3 separate regions of the Homo sapiens genome follow, and all the other regions are linked to region 1. Evidence: promoter capture Hi-C in 16 types of primary human blood cells and fetal thymus (Javierre and others, 2016). All regions are on one chromosome and are shown on one strand. The core of a region is centred on a gene start or on the middle of the fragment in contact, and the rest is flanking DNA. Distances in the headings are between cores, read along the strand shown.

Region 1 (3,968 bases), core at 331-2,830:
CTTGGAGAACCTTTGAGAGCTGTGAGTGACATGATCAGCTTTGTATTTTGGACACCTCCTTTTGATGTCACTGAAGGAAAGAACTAGAGGGAGACTATTGTTTTGATCAAATAGTGTTCTAGAATTTCTGAACCCAGGCCTTAAGACAACTGGCAGCTTCTGCTTCATTCCTCTTAGAATCCAGCCAGCATGCTGTGAGCAGCTCCAGCACCATGGAGAGGTGACATAGAGGACAACCAAAATGCACCAGCTGACAGCCCCATTGTGATCCCAGTGGCAGCCAGCACCTACTGCTCACCACGTGAGTTCACCATTGCACCATCTGCAATGGTGTCTGGAGAGCTGATGTCCCAGTCCAGCTGAACCCCTAGATGACTGCAGTCCCAGAAGACAACATGTTGAGCAGGAAAACCACCCAACTGAGCCCAGCCAACCCATGAAATCATGACAAGTAACACAATAACTGGTCTAAGCCAGTAAGTCATCGGTGGGTTTTTATGCAAGTGTAGATAGCTGAAAAACTGGAGGACGGGTGGGTTCCCAGGTGGTGGTCACAGCTACAGCTCAGAGGAAAAGGTCTGGCTGGAGAGGCTATAGATTTAGGAGACATTGGCTCATAGAAATGTGAAAGCTCTGTTGTGGATGAAATCACCTACATCCCTTTTCACACATGCCCAGCACACCTAGAGCACAGCCAACCCACAGCAAATATCTGCTGAATTAAATTCAACACTCCATATAATGAAGAACACTAAAAAGCCACTGTTTTCTTGAGCTAAGACAGTCCTCATGCCCGGAATTCTAATTTCCCCTTGTTCTAAGCATAGTTTTATGCTCACCCTCTCTGAATCAAGTGTGTACTCCTAGCTGCTGCATTTTATCTTCTTTATCCTCCTAAGACAAGTCCGTTTGAGTGTGGACTTGGAATCTGCAAACATAAGCTTGGGTTCAGGGTGATGATTTTTCTACCTGTGCACCTCTCTTCTGAGCCTCGGCTTCCTCAACTATATATAAAGGTGCGAATACCTGCTGATTAGGTAATAAAGGTGAACTCTTGGGCAACCCTTAAGGGGATGCAGCTGTATTGTCCATCTTCAGCAGGACACAGGTACAGCCTCAACCCAAACATCCCATCTGTTCCCTCTACCTGTGGCCTGTTCCTCTTCCCTGTAAGAACCATCTCCCAGGTTGGGGAGCTGGGAAATCTCCAGCTTTGTGTTTGAAAAAGCTCCCGGAAGACCCAATTTTACAGCCAGCTTGGCCAGCTGCTGGGGTAGAAGGGTGAGCAAGGAGCTAGTAGTCTGGGAAAGTGACTCCTAGAGTCGCAGATCTGGTTGGAGCCCAGGTTTGTCCTCTAACACAGTGTGACCTCCGCAAGCTCCAGCACTTCTTGGGCCCAGTTGTCCCCTGTTGTACACAAAGCATTAAGAATGGCCTGAAACAACCCCAAGGCTCCTTCCACCTGGAAGGCTCCGGCTCCTGTTGGGGTGGGGGTCCGGTCACGTGTTGGCGGGGAGGGGGTTGCCGGTTGACGTGGCTGCGGGTCCAGCCTCCTCTGACGTCCTCGCAGCCGTCCTCCCTCCCTCCGTCCCCGCCCCTCTGGCGGCGGGAGAGCTGCTGGCTCGCCCGGATCCCGGGAGCTGCCTGGAGGCGGGCCCGGCCCGGGGAAGGTGAGCGGCTGCGGGACCCAGCCCCTCGCCGGGAGCGGGCACCATGGTGCTGTCGGTGCCTGTGATCGCGCTGGGCGCCACGCTGGGCACAGCCACCAGCATCCTCGCGTTGTGCGGGGTCACCTGCCTGTGTCGGCACATGCACCCCAAGAAGGGGCTGCTGCCGCGGGACCAGGACCCCGACCTGGAGAAGGCGAAGCCCAGCTTGCTCGGGTCTGCACAACAGGTGAGCGGGGGCGGCGCGCAGGCCCTTCCCGGGCAAGGCGGGGTTGCCGGGCAGCTGCAGAGGGGGAACTGGGGTGGGAGGCGGTCGTGGATCTTTGCGCGACAAAGCTTGGCGGGGAGGGGACAGCAGACGCGTTGGAGGACAGGTCAAGGAGTCAAAAAGGTAGGGGGATGGGGGAGGCTAGGGGATGGGGGAGACGAGACCTGAAGGAGAATTAGGGAGCGGCGAGCTTGTGGGGACTGAGAGAAGAATGGGGGCCAGCAGCGAGACCTAAAGGGAGGGGACAGGAAAGGGGACCTGGATAAGAATTAGGGCTGGGAAGGGTAAGAGGAGAGGGAGGCTGGGAGGGGAATCGCCAGGGTTAGGGAAGACCCTGAGAGGTACCAGAGAATGAGGAGTTTGCAGAATTGGGAAGAAGACTGGGGTCTGTGAGAGGGAGATGGGTGGTGGTTGTGGAGCCAGGGTAGGGCAAGTCCTGCCAGAGCTGAGAAGAGGTAATGCCTGCAAAGCCAGAGGGGAGGTGGCCGCGGTCCCGCAGGAGCTGGGAAGCTAGCTAGCGGGGTCTAGAGAGCTGAATCCGGGAGGAACCTGAAGGACTCTTCCCCACCCCCTAGCAGCTCTGAGCTCCAGCCAGTCAGAGGGGGTTGGTATGGCCTCCCCCAAGATGTCTCTGCAGACGTCCCTGGAGACAGGAGGGCTTTTATCCCATGCATTTGCTCATGGCCAGAGCCCCTTCGTGCAGGAAATAGCCCGTGCTCCCATTGTAAAGAGCAGCAGAAGGGGTCTGGGGAAGCAGTTTGGAAGGATTTCCCTGCATAGGCTGTGACCTCCAGGATGCATTTCCAAAGTACAGAATGCAGAATGTTCTCTGGAGAACCAGGAGGCAAAGAGTCCTGCTAGAGTGATTTGAGGAAGGATGGCCCTGGGGCAGGGGCATGACTTAAAGGACCTCCTAAAGGCCCTCTAGATCCCTTATAGACTGTATGGTTCCAGGAGTGGCACTAAAATGCTGTGACTCCATCTTCCTTTTTCCAATCAATAATTCAAAAGCTCAGAGGACCCAGTTGTGTGGGGCCTGTGTCAGTCACTGTACAGTGAGAGTGGAAAGGAAATGGCTGCTGTCCTTGAGGCACTTATAATCCAAGAACAGTGACATTGACAGTGGCTAAATAGGAGCCGGCTGCACAGCAGAATGTGGGACTTGGGACGATCTGGAAAAGGGGAATAGTGGGCTTTCCACTGGCCAGGTGTTGGGAGTCCTTCTCCACAAGTCGTGGTCGGCCGCCTCTCAACCTTCTTTCCTGCCCAACACACTTGAGGAACAGCCACTCTTCTGCCTTTCAGTGATGTCTCTCCAGGCACCGCCCCCTCCCCTTCCTAGAGAGAACCACTGGGAAACTAGTTGGTGTAAATGACCTCTAGGGTCTCTTCCAACTCTTTGTCTTATTGATGACCAGTAGCCCACAGAACGGCTGATCATCTGTTAAAGAAAAACCAGGTTGTGTCTCTCCCCTGCTTCAAATCCTCCACAACTTCTCACTGAGCTTGGAAGAGGTCATAGCAAACCATGACATAGCATACACTGTGTGCCAGGCGCACTGTTCAGAGTACACTAATTAATGTGTTTCTTGACCCAGTGAGGGAGCCATAGAATGATCCTAACTTAAAGATGAGGAAACTGAGGCTTAGAGAAGGTAACTGACTTGCCTAGAGCTGCACAGCTAGAGAAGTTTTAGAGCCAGACTCTAGCTGAGCTTGTCTGATTCTGGTGGCCACACTATTAGCCACTCCTCTCCACCCACTCACCTGCTTTAACATGGAAGGTGCCTGCCTCTCCAGCCAAGCTCATGCCAGTTTCTTTCTTCATCAGCAGTCTTGGCTTCCCTGGATTTACGATCATTCTTTTAAAACACCAAGCCCTTTTCTGCCCCTTCATTTTTCTCTGGCCTTTCATACAAATGGCTCCTTCTCATCCTTCAGGTCTTTTTCCATTTAAAGTCTCAGGGAGGATTTTGCCTACTGACACATAAAACAAAACACCCTCTTCCTGTTATTCTCTCCCATATTGTTTC
Region 2 (3,576 bases), core at 68-2,567, 370 kb after region 1:
TGGGTATGGTGGCATGTGCCTGTAGTCCCAGCTACTTGAGAGGTTGAGGTGGGAGAAACACTTGAACCCTGGAGGTGGAGGTTGCAGTGAGCCAGGATTGTGCCATTGCACTCCAGCCTGAGCGACAGAGCGAGACTCAGTCTCAAAAAAAAAAAAAAAAATGCATCCTGGGCTTTAAGCAAGAGGGCTTTGGAGGAAAAGACAAATAGAGACAGTTCCACAGCAGCAGATTTTTAACGGGACGAAATGCCTAGGAGGGACATGAATGTCTCAGCAAAGAAACCCCAGGAGCCAGTCTCAGACCCTCAGGAACAACAGAGTCACTGGAAAGAATGAATGTGGCTGTGCAGGGACCTCTCTGATGAGCTCTGATTTTGAAGACATGCCCAGGAGAGGAAAGGAGACATCCTAACGGAGGATGAGTCCAGAAATGGGAAGCACATCTGATGCGGGGAATGCGGCCCATGGGAAGCCTCCTGAAAACTTACAAGTAGCATTAAAAGGTTCTAAGTTTGGCTGTTGGCAACGGGCATCTCAAACAACAGCTCCTTCACCAAGTTACAAATTCACTGGTCTTTCACATAAACCCCACGCTATGGTGGCCGCTGTATGCCATGGAACTGTACGTGGCCCAGGCTCCTTCTCTCTGGATGCTCTGCCATCCTAGGGGCCACCTCCCTCTGCCAAGTCCTAGCCAGAGAAAAAAGGAGGGGTGGGCACAGCACTTTCTCTTAAGGATGTGACTCAAGTTGCACAAATCACCTCTGCTCACCTCCCGTTAGCCAGAACTCGGTTACATGGTCTAGCTGCAAGGCAGGCTGGGAAGTGCAGCCTCTAGCTGGTGGTCATGGGGTGTGATAACCATTCCCTTCCCAAGAGAGTAGGGGTGAATGGATCGTGGGGGGCAGCCAGCAGCCTCTGCCAACATATGGAATCTGAGGTCCAGCGAGGGTGTCTTGGCGAAGGCAACACAGCAGTTAACAGCCCACCCCTGCCTGCCATGGAAGCCTGAAACTCCCCTCCCCGCCCTGCAGCTGCTCCCCACGGCAGGTCTCTCTGCCCCACGTCCACAGTGGCCTCAACTCAGGGCCCTCATTTCTCTATTGAGCCTCTTTCCCCCAATGCAGGAAGGCAGGGTGATGAGGGACAGAGAGAACGTGGCCCTCAGGGCCTCAGGAATCCATGGGGATGTGCCAGGGCCAGAGGGGCTGAGTTCCTGGGGCAGAGCTGAGGCTGGAAAGGGCCCGCCAGAGCCCCAGGACCCAGGCCTCTGCTCACTGTCACCTCCTCTGGGACTTTGCAAGTTCTGCCTTGAGCCCCCACCCAAGGCCCATTCTAGCCCCTCATCTGGTTTTATTTCTTCGCAGCAATCATGACCATGTGAAATGATTACTTCTCATTAGTTTGCTGCTTGTTCATCTTGCGCGTCCTCTAATGAGATCGTGAGCCTCGCAGGAACAGGGGCCTTGTCTCCTGTCCCCTGCTGTGTCTCTTGCATCTGGAACTCTCCATGAGACCCTCGTTAAAGTCCTACTCAAGCAAGGGGGCTGGGGCCCAGGCTTAGATCACCCTCGTCCTCTCCCTCCCTCTCCTCCTGCCTAGCCTGGTCACACACCCACACTGGCAGAGTGGGGGCTGGTCAGTGGGAAGAAGGGGATTAAGAGCAAGGGCATTGTGAACTCATAAGGGTGTGTGGGCAGGAGGCACACAAAGCCAGGCGCTTGTCTTCCCTAGAAATGGCACGTGCAGGAAGGGAAAGGGTTTCTTCCAAGGCTGCGAGGAAGTCCTCAGGTTGCAAGAGAACCTGAAGTCTAGGAGCTTCTCTGACCTTGGAGAGTCAGGTCAAGGAGACCTTGCTCCCTTAGGGTGCCCCACATGGCAAATAAGAGCTTCCTCCAAAATACAGTGCATGGCTAAGAAGGGCCCCCCACTGTGCAATTCTGGTTCTGTCCCCCTCCCTCCCTTTGGACCTGCATTATCAGAAACTCAGGAAACATCGGGAAACTCCTACTCACCCCTTAGCCCCAGCCTGAATGCCCACTCCAGCGGCAGACCATCTGCCACTGTCATCCTTCCCCATTTTGGTTGGATCTCAGGGGCTTGGACAGAGAGCCTCCATCAGCCCCTGCTCAGGTGCAGGCATCCCATATCATGGCCAACACTTCCCTGGGATTCCTGGGGTAGCTTCAGACCCTCTGGGGTGATAGCGCCTCCCACCCAGCTCTGGCCACCCAAATCCCGATAGACCCACTCCCCTGTCTGGAGAGCAGGGCCAGTACCTGCTTGTTTAGGAATAGGCTCCTTCCCAGGAGGCACTCCTCCCGGCTCAGCAGGACCCCGTCCCGACTTTGGGGTTCCCTCCGGCAGCAGGCCTCCGGCACCTCTTCACTATCCAGGGTCAGGAGTCGAAACACAGATGCAAACTTAAAGTCTTCAGGCCCGTTGACCCCGCAGCAACCAAACTAGGGGGAGATCCCAGAGAAGGTTCTGGTGGGCAGGAGGAGGACACAGGGGCGGGGACAGAGAAGGACATACAGCCTCTGCAAAGGAGTGGCATCAGAAGACTGGGTGTGGGCGGGCTCCACCTGTCACCACTGTGTGACCATGGGAAAGCCACTCAGCTTCTCTGGGCCTTCAGTGTCCTCATCTCTATAACAGAGGTGGCAGTAACAATTCCTACCTCACCAGGCGCTTAGCCATCCATAAACAGTTGCTGTGGTTATTATCATCATCATAATGACCATTGCTTGGGGACCCAAGACAGGGAGAGCAAACAGGTTTCATCCCGAGTAGGGACTGTGATCAAGTGGCATGGCTGCCTGGAATGCTGCGTGGATGGTGATTCCAAGGCCAGGTCTGTGATCAATGGGAGAGTGCCTGGATTGATTACTGATGCCTGGCGTGGGCATGTGAACACTGGGCATCGTGGCTCTGAATGTTCATAGCATCTCTGGGGCGTCACTCACTGTGATCATGACCGAGTTCCAGGTGGCAGAGAAGACGTCTGTGTCGTTATTGCCCTGGTAGTGCTTGGTGAGCTCCTTGGTGAAGAATTCTCGGGTGAGCTGGGGGCAGAGGGAGAAGATGGGCTTAGGCCTGGCAGTTGGGTGCAGCCCCCACCCTCCATCGTCTCTCCATCCACCTGCTTGGGAGTTGGGGGAATGAGAGCTAGGGGCTCTGCATCCTGGTGCCAGGTCCCCTGGGATTCTCCTAAACCACCAACTTGGGGCAGTCTTCTTATCCCCAGTGGAGAAAGGAAGTCCATACACATGCACATCTCGGTGGAGCCGAGGTCAGGGCACGCTGAGGACCTCACTCCACCTGCAGCTCTGCCCAGAGGGAGGGCTTATCTGGGTGGGGAGTTTGCACCTCACCCCACCCCTTCCACCTGAGCTGTTCCCCAGACAGAGCCAAGCAGATGCCCTGGGTCCCAGGGCCTGAAGAAGCTACAGGACCGGGCAGGAAGTCTTTGTACATCAGTTTCCAGAGGAGTCCTCCACAGTTTCTCCTACTCCCAAAATATTCTCCTTCCCTCCTGCTGCAGTCAAAGGCTAGGGCCCTGGGTGGTGCCCAGCA
Region 3 (3,848 bases), core at 1-2,500, 390 kb after region 1:
ACCCGCCCTCCAGATACACACACTCGGGGCAACTGTCCTGCTAATCTGGGCCCATTAGAGCTCATGAAAAGCTCTCAGCACCTGAGGCCACTCCAGCGGGGGAGTGGCCTTCTGCCCAGATGGCAGCTCCTGGGTGCCTTTGCAGGTGCTGCCTTGGAAGGCACATCTTTAATAGACTTGCAGATTCTAGCATGGGCTTCATGTATGCTGACACGGCTGCACATGAGGCTGATGGCCTGGGAGGAGATGATGGGTGTGAGTAACCTGCATCCATGGATGCCACCCAGGCATCCACAATACTTCAGCAGAGAGAGTGCCAGCAGGGCCCTGTTCATCAACTTCCTCCCCCAAAACCCAGACTCCCAGGAGAGAGAGATTTGATGCTGGAAAGTGTTTCTTGGCTTTGCATAAGGATTTGTGAGAAGGTTCCTTCAGAGGGCCAGCTCCCAGCAGTGGAAATGAGGGTTCGATTTCAGAAGTCAAAACAGGCCCATATGGAGACTCCTGTTCTATCACTCCTGCGGGGAATTCCACAGCCAGCTCCTGCTCAAACTTTGGGTTAGAGGACAGTCCCAGGAAGACCTGGGACCTGGGGAAGCCTGGGCTGTGGGGGTGTTCCTAGGGAAGGAAGGGAGAGATATCCATGTCTATCCAAAATCCCTCCAAGTACGAGCCTGCCTGGGGTCAGTGAAGGGGTGGTGGGTGAAAGATTCCTCCCCATTTACCCATCCCTCCCTTCCTCCCTCAACCCACCCACTCACCCACCTACCATCCACTCAGTAGACGTACACTGAGTTGCTACTATGTGCCAGGGGCTGTGCCAGAGAGTGTGAGGTGCAAATAAGCATGGGCACACAAGTGAGTGGTGGTAGTGGTGGTGGTGGTGGTGGCAGCGTGGAGGAGACAAGGAGGCAGATAACAGCAGGGCTGGGGAACCCACAGTGGGGAGGACTAACTCCACCGGCATAACTCTGGGCAGAGGGGAGAGGAACTGTGGGGAAGGGGATGGTGAAGGCTAGTCTTGGGGGAGTGCAGAGGTAGAGATGGGAAGATGGAAAGGCAGGAGAAGAGGCCTCCCTCCTGAGACATGGCCACAGCCCCGGGAGCTGGCACCCCTATTTGGCCTAAACATACCTATGTGACAGGCCCTTCAACTGCCTGCCCCATCTGTGTGCACCAGCTTCAGGTACTCCGTGCACTTGGGGTACAGTGCTGGCATGCGTGAGCCCATGAAATGCTCAGAACAACCCTATGAAGTAGGTATCACACCATCATCCCCACAGTACAATGGGGAAACTGAGTCCAATGGGAAAAGAGAGAGAATTGACTTGTCCAACATCACACTGTTGGTAAGTGATGGGGCTGGAATCCAAACTCAGGGGTCAGAGTCAAAAGTGGCGTTTACAGAAAGTGCTTTCTCTTCCTGTGTGATCACAATGAATCCTCACAATAGCCCACGAGGCAGGCTACCACAGGTTCACTGGGGTCAGTGAAGGGGTGGTGGGTGAAAGATTCCTCCCCATTTACCCATCCCTCCCTTCCTCCCTCAATCCACCCAGTCAGCCATCTACCATCCACTGAGTAGATGTACATTGAGTTGCTACTATGTGCCGGGGAAGTGCCAGGGAGTGCAAGGTGCAAATAACCATGGGCACACAGGTGAGTGGTTTTTACAGAATGAAATTGAGGCTTGGAGATGCCAGTGACAAGGCCAAGCATCCTCGGGAGATTTCAAGCTGTTTCCAGCTTTGTAGTTCAGGGCCTGCACCCCATGCCCAGCCCCAGGGCTCAGGGAAACAAGGACGGGGTGATGGGTTTCCTGCCGCTTCTCTTCTCCTGCTGCATCCCAGTCCTGGTCCCCTGTATCACCATTCCCTGCCTCATCTCCGTCTGGACACTGAGGCTGATATGAGAAACATGGATGACATAGGCCAACCCAGAGACAAGGAGGAGATGCTGAACTCTGGGGAATGTCTGGCGGTTGCCTGCCTCCTCCCCACCAGGGAGCTCCAGCCCCTTTGAATGCTGTACCCTGGCTGGGAATGGGCTCACCCCTTGTGGTGTCCCAACTTCCCTGAACTAACTTCATTTCCCTTTTTTTCTTTGTCCTCTGTGAGCCCCCATCCTATTGACTGGCTCATTTGTCCTGGAAGAGGACAGCCCAGTGACACCTGCCATGCTCACCCCATCACTGATGCTTCTGCAGAGGCTGGGTTGGTTTCTGCCTTGGCCAGCTCCCTGGAGACCTTGGGAAAGTCACCCCCCTCTCCAAGGTGCTAGGTTCTCCTTGGAAAACTGTGATGATGAATTTGGAAGCCAAAGGTGGTTGTAAGAATTCACAGTACCATGGGAGCTATTATTATCAGCAGCATCAGATATTGGAAATAAGTGGATGCCCAGCCCACATTCACCAGTTATGAATGGAGCAGGGTATAGGGGAGAACCATGGACACATGGCTTGGGTAGCGTGGATACAAACATCTTTCCCCTAAACAGACCCAAATTCTAACAAATTGCCACAATTTTGTGGTAACTGAGCCTAATAACTACTAGGATTGAGGTTTTACCATGTACCAGACTCCACTATACCTTTCTCCTACCTGTCCTCTTATTTAATCCTTACCTAGGAGGTGGGTATTATTATTATCCCATTTTACAGATGAGGAAACTGAAGCGTGGGCAGGGTAACTAACTCGTCTGAGTTCATTTACCTGGTTAGCAAAACATGGCTATGATTTAGCCCCAAGTCAGCTGGACCCCAAACCAGAGCTCCTGATACGACACCTATCCGTGGGGTGTGGCACCAGAGACAGGAAGCGCCGTGCCCCAGTCTGCAAAGTCTCCAGCCCAGTGCTGCTCTTCCCTGAACCAGGCAGCGAGGCACAGAGGCCCAGGAAGTTGGCTAAACTTCTTCCCTGAGCCAGCTGGAGGCCCTTGGGGATGGCCCAGGCCGGCCATCCCTTGACAGATGGGAGCCCTGAGGCCCAGAAAGGCACAGAGATGGGACCGAGGTCACGCAGTGCCTCGGGGCTTTCCTCGGCGGACCCCTGCCCGGGCCAGACAGCTTTATTAATCTCGCCCCTCCTGTCGCCCAGATGGCGGCTCAGCCCCATCTGCACGGAGCAGGGGCCCAGGAGGGGCTCTCTGATTAAGAAGAACAGCTCAGTTCATAAATCACTCCTTTTACTTTCACTCCCCCCCGCCCCCAGGCATGCTTTCTAGAGAGAAGGAAAGGAGGCGGCCGGACAAGAGAGATGGAGAAGCCCCCAGTGGAGGAAGGTTTGGGCTGGTGCAGAGCCGAGAAAGGGCTTGCACGTGCCCTGGCCAGGAGAGGGCGCTGTGGCCAAGGGCAGAGCCTCAGAGGACCGTGTGTTCCCCTGCAACTGCGTTCCCACCAGTGGGGGATCTGCCTGTGCCAGCCATAAGCCTGAGCCAGACGCCTCACCTCCAGAGCCTCACCTCCGCATCTGGGAGGTGGGGATGTTCAGAACTAACTTCTAGGATCCTTTCCAGGAGGATGCAAGGGGATGATGAGGGTGAAAGGACTTGACAGGCTGCACACCCCGTTCCCTCCTTCCTGCGCTCCCGGCACCAACAGCGCCAGCCCTGGGCTTGGTCCAAGGCATAGGGACCAAGGGCTGCCCTTCCTCAAGGACTCACTCAAGTCTAGTGAGACTCAATCACCGCAGTCCCTACTTGGAGAGAAGTGTTAATGGCCACATTAACCCAGTGTCCTGGGCTTGCCAGGCAAGATACAGAAACGAAACCCTGACTGCCAGGGTGAGGCTGGGGTCGGGAGAGCCTAGAATCAGGGAGGCCATGTGGGGAGGACTGGGACAGGGTCAGCA

Evidence for each region. Contacts are between HindIII fragments. The CHiCAGO score rates a contact against its expected background, and 5 or more counts as called.
Region 2: a contact is called between a fragment that was not itself captured here and the fragment with the promoter of SYT13 in region 1, in 2 of 17 cell types (M0 macrophages and M1 macrophages). The highest score is 8.2, in M0 macrophages.
Region 3: a contact is called between a fragment that was not itself captured here and the fragment with the promoter of SYT13 in region 1, in 1 of 17 cell types (naive CD8 T cells). The highest score is 5.3, in naive CD8 T cells.

What each region holds. Positions count from the first base shown.
Region 1 is chr11:45,283,953-45,287,920 of GRCh38, reverse strand. SYT13 (synaptotagmin 13) reads left to right here and starts at 1,580. Exons shown (of 6, transcript NM_020826.3): 1 at 1,580-1,896. The coding sequence starts at 1,714. RefSeq lists an enhancer at 1,399-2,185. The HindIII fragment of the contact is 1,062 bases long and covers 944-2,005 here.
Region 2 is chr11:44,918,703-44,922,278 of GRCh38, reverse strand. It overlaps TSPAN18 (tetraspanin 18), which reads right to left. Exons shown (of 10, transcript NM_130783.5): 7 at 2,967-3,065; 8 at 2,280-2,462. Among named protein-coding and RNA genes, the nearest start is that of TP53I11, 30 kb to the left of the region's middle. The HindIII fragment of the contact is 5,797 bases long and covers 1-3,576 here.
Region 3 is chr11:44,893,825-44,897,672 of GRCh38, reverse strand. The region is part of intron 3 of TSPAN18 (tetraspanin 18); the gene reads right to left. Among named protein-coding and RNA genes, the nearest start is that of TP53I11, 55 kb to the left of the region's middle. The HindIII fragment of the contact is 5,473 bases long and covers 1-3,848 here.